Linked DNA regions of Homo sapiens: region 2 is linked to region 1. The links are contacts of gene promoters, found by promoter capture Hi-C in blood cells and fetal thymus (Javierre and others, 2016). All regions are on one chromosome and are shown on one strand. Each heading gives the region's core, a stretch centred on a gene start or on the middle of the fragment in contact. The rest is flanking DNA. Distances are from core to core; before and after follow the strand shown.

Region 1 (3,297 bases), core at 376-2,875:
TTCTCATTAGGTATATTAACGTTGATGTTTGAGTTGACATTTGTTGAATTTTTTTTTTCAGAATGGTGCTTCAATTCATGTTTCAAAAGCAGACACAGAAATAATTTCCAGAGAAATGAGCTGGGGGAAAACAGAAATGTGTATGGAATTGGAACAAAATAAACCTGATTTTTTTCAACATTGTATAGAATTGTTCTGAGGTTAAAAAGAAAGGTTTCTAAAAAATAAATATCTAACAAAAGCTGCACAAAGATTAGGCATACATTATCCATGGAGACATTAAAAACTATTAAAAAGGTTTTTTTACCCCACCTCATCCCCTGGTATGTTTGAGGAAAGCATCTGGAAATTCTAACTCAAAATCATCTAAGGGAATCAATGTAAAACAGACACCATTCCATCCCCTTTCATCCTTCTTAATACACCTCAGCCTCTCCCTTGACTAGATAAAAACGTAATTTTCCCTCTCCCAAATACAGTGCAAAACAAAAACTCTTCTGTGAATGGAGAGACATGGATATGGGGTAGAGGTGGAGACTTGCCTACATTACCAGCAGCCAGCCGAAAATGCCCTGTGTGTGTAAAATATGTTCCTTCAAAGGGGCATTGTGAGCACTAAATATAATTTGTGCCAAAAATAATAATGAAAGCTTAGTGAATACTCTACAGTGCAGGCATCGTTACATTTAATCCACAAAACTACCCCATGAGGTAGATATTTACCGTTCTTTTCACTTAACATCTTTTTTAAAAAGCGGAAAACAGAATGATGAATTAACTTGTCCATGGTCATAAAACTGATAGGTAGTGGCACCAGGATTTGGGGACCATCGGGCAGAGGATCTTCCAAAACCGGCTTTTAAAGAGCCACAAAAAGATGTAGCCGGGTTCTTGGCACTACAGTACTGCTTTATAAACAACAGTTCCCTTCTTTTCTCTTAGAGCCCAGTGGGAATCTAGAGGGACACCTTACATAAAGGAAAATGACTGCAACCTGGACCTGTCACTCGACAAATACTGCCTCTCCCCACCTCACTTCACCTGACGTCTCTGCCCAACCGAAGGCAGCTCTCAGAAAACCGCACAGAGGTTACCACCCCAGAAATTCTGAGATCCTAGGAGGTAGCAATGCAAATAGACAAAGCACAGTATTGCTTTGGATCGAAAATATTTGTTTGCTCATCCTAACTCCAATTCCCCTAGCCTAGAACAAACATAGCCCTTCCGCACTCAGGAAATCCCAAGAGGTCAGGTTCAGTCTGGTAAACAACACTGTCCGGGCACCTTGCAGAACACTGGGGACTGTGACGGGCGGCGACAAATTGGCACAAGAGAGACTGAAATGCACAGGGACACCAGCCTAGTGGCCGTGAAAACTCAAGTTGACACTTCCAGGGAGGGAATGGGGGAGGTGGAGCCCAATTCCTGCTTCTGGAGAGAGTAAGAGACTTCCTCCATCCTCCTTCTCCCTCCTCCTCCTCCAAGGCACGCTGAGATTTGGAGCGGAGGAGCTGAGCCCCGCGGGAAAAGCAGAAAAGGGTCATTGCCACTTTAAATGACTCAGGAAGTAAAAGGAGGCCTCCTGACGGGGAAAGGGAAAGTGGAACCGGGGCGGCGCGGGGGCCGGCGGCTGCCGCGATCTCTCCCTGGTAGCGGGAGGCTGAGCGGGCGGCGCGACGCGGGGGCCGACGGGGGCGCCGGGTGGCCGCGCCGGAAGTGCCTTGCGCGGCAGAGGAAGCGCAGGGACAGAGCGGAGCAGGCCGAGCCGGCGGAAAGGGTCTTTGCTGCTGCGCCCGGGCAGGGGCTGCCGCGGCCCCAGGTCCCGCTTCGAGACGCGGCGCGGTCCAGGCGGGAGGCGACTCCCTAGGAAGGGACCCGGGGCGGGAGGAGGAAGTGAGGCCGCGCGGAAGGAAGGCGGCGAGCCCCGGGGCCCCGAGGCCTTGGCCGCGTCACAGCACCCACATGGCCTCTGGAGTGGGCGCGGCCTTCGAGGAACTGCCTCACGACGGCACGTGTGACGAGTGCGAGCCCGACGAGGCTCCGGGGGCCGAGGAAGTGTGCCGAGAATGCGGCTTCTGCTACTGCCGCCGCCATGCCGAGGCGCACAGGCAGAAGTTCCTCAGTCACCATCTGGCCGAATACGTCCACGGCTCCCAGGCCTGGACCCCGCCAGCTGACGGAGAGGGGGCGGGGAAGGAAGAAGCGGAGGTCAAGGTGGAGCAGGAGAGGGAGATAGAAAGCGAGGCAGGGGAAGAGAGTGAGTCGGAGGAAGAGAGCGAGTCAGAGGAAGAGAGCGAGACAGAGGAAGAGAGTGAGGATGAGAGCGATGAGGAGAGTGAAGAAGACAGCGAGGAAGAAATGGAGGATGAGCAAGAAAGCGAGGCCGAAGAAGACAACCAAGAAGAAGGGGAATCCGAGGCGGAGGGAGAAACTGAGGCAGAAAGTGAATTTGACCCAGAAATAGAAATGGAAGCAGAGAGAGTGGCCAAGAGGAAGTGTCCGGACCATGGGCTTGATTTGAGTACCTATTGCCAGGAAGATAGGCAGCTCATCTGTGTCCTGTGTCCAGTCATTGGGGCTCACCAGGGCCACCAACTCTCCACCCTAGACGAAGCCTTTGAAGAATTAAGAGTAAGTATTGGGCCTTCAGAGCATAAACCTAGGGGTCAGGACACCTGGGTTTCAACTCAGGTGGCCTGGCTGTGACCACATTCGCTTTCACTGTGTCCCTAAGAAGCTAGTCTTTCCAACTTTTTGGGAGCAGTTCTTATTCACCGTTTTTGGTTGAACTCTTTTGAGAATCTGATGAAAGTTCTGGACTCTGACCTGAGAAAATACACACAAAATCTAGTATACAATTTCTAGAAAATTGCAAGTTTCTGGTCTGTGGATCCCAGGTAAAGCATTTCTTGGGAGTTTTGACCCCACTTAGGCCAATTTCCACAGCATCACTATTGTTGAAACTGGTGCTTTGTGCTAGGGCTCTTGATAAGGCAATCTTTTTGCCTACTTGAAAACATGGGAAATAGGATTTTGCCACATGAATCCAAGCAAGTGATACGTCTGCATTGAAAAGACTAACAAAATAGTTTTAATAGTAACTTCATATGTGCCCCGAGTTCATTTTAGATTCTTCGTGTTTGAAACTTAGTAGAAAAGGAGGGTAAGAAGATGGAGGCCAAATTGGGGTGGGAGTGGAAGTTCCCATGTCCTCTGTCTGGATCTTTGTCTGTCGTGGACCTTACTGGTCCCCCAGAACAGTGGACACTTCGGAAATATTTGTTGAATGAATGAATT
Region 2 (3,297 bases), core at 308-2,807, 2.5 Mb before region 1:
AGACTATGCAATAGAACGCTCCTATTTTGCCTCATCTCTGCCAACCTCCAATAACATCTTCCACGTTATAAGCTAGGGAACCTGAAAAACGAAAACCTAAGTGCATGTCGTTGCTATGGCAATGGGAAATTTCAGGAAATTGAGACTGCAGGCTACCTAGCCTCCATTTTAGAAACTGTATTTATCTAAACACACCAGGACTTAGATCGAAAAACACATTTAATGGCATTTTTCATAACTATTTAGCTTCCTCTTTCACACTAAAAGGTAAATACTATCCTACAAAATTCTGAATACAAAGAGCAAAAGAAACAAATCACACTGATCTAACCTAAAAGTGTGAATTTTAAAATATTTAGTTGTCACTCATATTTACTATTAAAACAGATGCTTTTATTTACAGTGGCCAAAACAGACTTCTCATTTTCAACTTATACCTGCAATGTTTATGTAGCTGGAAAAATGAAAACGAAATGTGGCTAAAAGAAAAGAAAACGAAAGAAAGCCACAAAATTCCCAAAACCTCAGCATAACTTGCTTCTTTCTTCACTCGCTCTCATTAAGTCTTAATTCTCCAGATTAGCTTTGTCTCAAATATTTCTCAAACTAGTAACCTATTTCTGGGTACAGTATATTTGGCGGGGTAAAAGAAACACTGTCAAGTTTTTCTAAAACGTCGGGTGCACGTTAAAATAATTCCTATCCACTCTAATACCAAAACGATATCAAAGGAAAGCATCCCATCTGGAGTAGTCCCATGAATCTAAATAGGACGAAGCAGCCTACCGCTATTGTCTAAATCAAGTATTTACTCGTATTCATGCCTAAGAGAGAGAAGTAAAAAAAAAAAAATTAAATCTTAGATCTTGCTCCCCATTCCCACCACTCTTCTATATACCCTGTCCCCCGGGTTCACTAGACCCAATTCCTTCCTCAGCCGAACATGTCTGGAGCAGTCGGAGGAACAGACGTGGAGAAGAGGTCGCCACGAGGCCCCACCACTCTCCTTCCTCACCTGCTCCGTGGCTCCGTCTCCTGACATGGCCTCAGCTGATTACAACGTGCGCACTGACCGTCGATGGGAAGCTAGAAAAGAAAAATTAAACTAAAAACCACCCCCAAATCAGTAAAGTTACCCCCTGCCCAGCTGAGCCAGACCGCCAACACCAATCGCCACCGCCCACTCAAATATGAATTAAAATGGCTGCGCCCCTGCCGGCCGAGGAGGAGGTGTGTGGCTTCCGCATTAACTTCCGGGGCAGTGGGCGGGGCTAATTTCGCGACTCTGGTTATTCCGAGCGTGCAGAAAGCAGCGAGATCCCGGGGCGGGCCCAATTCCTGGGCTGACGTCACTACCCTGGCTTGGAGAGGCTGTTGCTGAGCCGGCTCCAACCGGCTGGAAGGCGGGAAGCTGTTTCGCCTGGAGGCTCGCGCGCTTTTTGGAATTCAGTTATCAAGCTTTAGAGCCTGGCTACTCACAGTTGAAGCCTGATTGCAGGTCAGCAATGCTAAACGTTAAATGCCTCTTATATTTAGGGGATAAGGACTCCGTGGAGGTTTTCTCTGGTCCCAGCTCCTGCTTTTTACTTTTCTTGGGGGTGGGAGGGATAGATCAAGCCCCCATTAATTTTTACTGCCACCGTCGACTCTTGTGTAGAAAGCTTTGAAGTCTGAGACCTGGGTTTTCAGCTCAACATCTCAGCTTGGTTCCTTGACTGCAAAGTAGGTATAATTGTTTGTAGCCCAGACTGCTTGGATTTTAACGAAGATAAGTAACTCTGGTAATTAAACTTCGTACCTCAGCTTTCTGGCCTATAGATGGGAATAATAATAGTACCTGCAAGTGAAATAAATTATACATAGAAAAGTGTTAGAACAGTACCTGGCATTAAGATTAAATGAGATTGACTGGGCGCGGTGGCCCACGCCTGTAATCCCAGCAGTTTGGGAGGCCAAAACGGATGGATCATTTAAAGTCAGGAGTTCTAGGCCAGGTGCGGTGGCTCACGCCTGTAATCGCAGCACTTTGGGAGGCTGAGGCGGGCGGATCACAAGGTCAGGAGATGAGACCATCCTGGCTAATACGGTAAAACCCCGTCTCTACTAAAAATACACACACACACAAAAAAAAATTAGCCGGGCGTGGTGGCGGGCGCCTGTAGTCCCAGCTACTCCGGATGCTGAGGCAGGAGACTGGCGTGAACCTGGGAGGCGGAGCTTGCAGTGAGCCGAGATCGCGCCACTGCACTCCAGCCTGGGCGGCAGAGCGAGACTCCGTCTCAGAAAATAAATAAATAAAGTCAGGAATTCAGGACCAACCTGGCCAACTTGGTGAAATCTCGTCTCTACCAAAAATACAAAAAAAGTAGCCGGGCGTGGTGGTTTGCGCCTGTAGTCCCAGTTACTCGGGAAGCTTAAGCAGGAGAATCGCTTGAACCCGCGAGGCGGAGGTTGCAGTGAGCCGAGATTCCAGCCTGGACTACAGAGCGAGACTCCGTCTCAAAAAAAATAAAAAATAAAAAATTAAATGATACTAAATCTTCTCAAACTGCTCTTCCATTTAAGCGTCATCGTTAGATGTCTGCAAGCATTTCTCGCCTACGGGGGTCCAATGCCCTAAAATAACCTAGTGAACTGTTCCCAGACTCGCCTTATTCTTTTAGGTCTCCTTTCCTCTGCTCAAACTTACACTTACTCCCTTTCCACAGGCTGAAATCTTACCCTTAAAATAATCAGACACATGAGCAAAAGATATGTATTAACAGATGTTCATTGCACCATCCAGCAATGGAGGACTGGTTAAAAATATCACAAGATTTATCTCTGCAATGGAATATCACACAGCAAACTGATGCTAATGTACGATGACTGACAGAAAGGCAACCACCGTATTAAATGAAGAAAAGCAGAATATGAAAGTGTTTTACGTATATATACTTACCACTTTAGCATCCTAATCTGAAAATCCAAAATCTGAAATACTCCAATGAGCATTTCCTTTGAGAGTCATGTCAGTGCTTAAAAAGTTAGATTTTGGAGCGTTTTGAGTTTTGGAACATTTAGGTTTTTTTTTTTTTTTCTCTTGAGGCAGAGTCTTGCTCTGTCGCCCAGGCCGGAGTGCAGTGGTGCGATCTCGGCTCACTGCACCCTACACCTCCCAGGTTCAAGCGATTCTCCTGCCTCAGCCTCCTGAGTAGCTGGGATTACAGGCGTGCGCCACCACGCCCGGCTAATTTTTGTATTTTTTCTTTTTCTTTTTTTTTTTTTGAGACGGAGTCTCGCTCTGTCGCCCAGGCT

What was found. Contacts are between HindIII fragments. The CHiCAGO score rates a contact against its expected background, and 5 or more counts as called.
Region 2: a contact is called between a fragment that was not itself captured here and the fragment with the promoter of TRIM44 in region 1, in 1 of 17 cell types (naive B cells). The highest score is 6.0, in naive B cells.

The regions. Positions count from the first base shown.
Region 1 is chr11:35,661,150-35,664,446 of GRCh38, forward strand. It overlaps TRIM44 (tripartite motif containing 44), which reads left to right and starts at 1,626. Exons shown (of 5, transcript NM_017583.6): 1 at 1,626-2,631. The coding sequence starts at 1,963. RefSeq lists enhancers at 1,283-1,602, 1,814-2,314 and a silencer at 1,643-2,022. The HindIII fragment of the contact is 12,326 bases long and covers 649-3,297 here.
Region 2 is chr11:33,160,284-33,163,580 of GRCh38, forward strand. CSTF3 (cleavage stimulation factor subunit 3) reads right to left here and starts at 1,197. Exons shown (of 21, transcript NM_001326.3): 1 at 1,016-1,197. The coding sequence starts at 1,042. It overlaps CSTF3-DT (CSTF3 divergent transcript), which reads left to right and starts at 1,374. Exons shown (of 4, transcript NR_034027.1): 1 at 1,374-1,498. RefSeq lists enhancers at 1-426, 1,162-1,581. The HindIII fragment of the contact is 203 bases long and covers 1,457-1,659 here.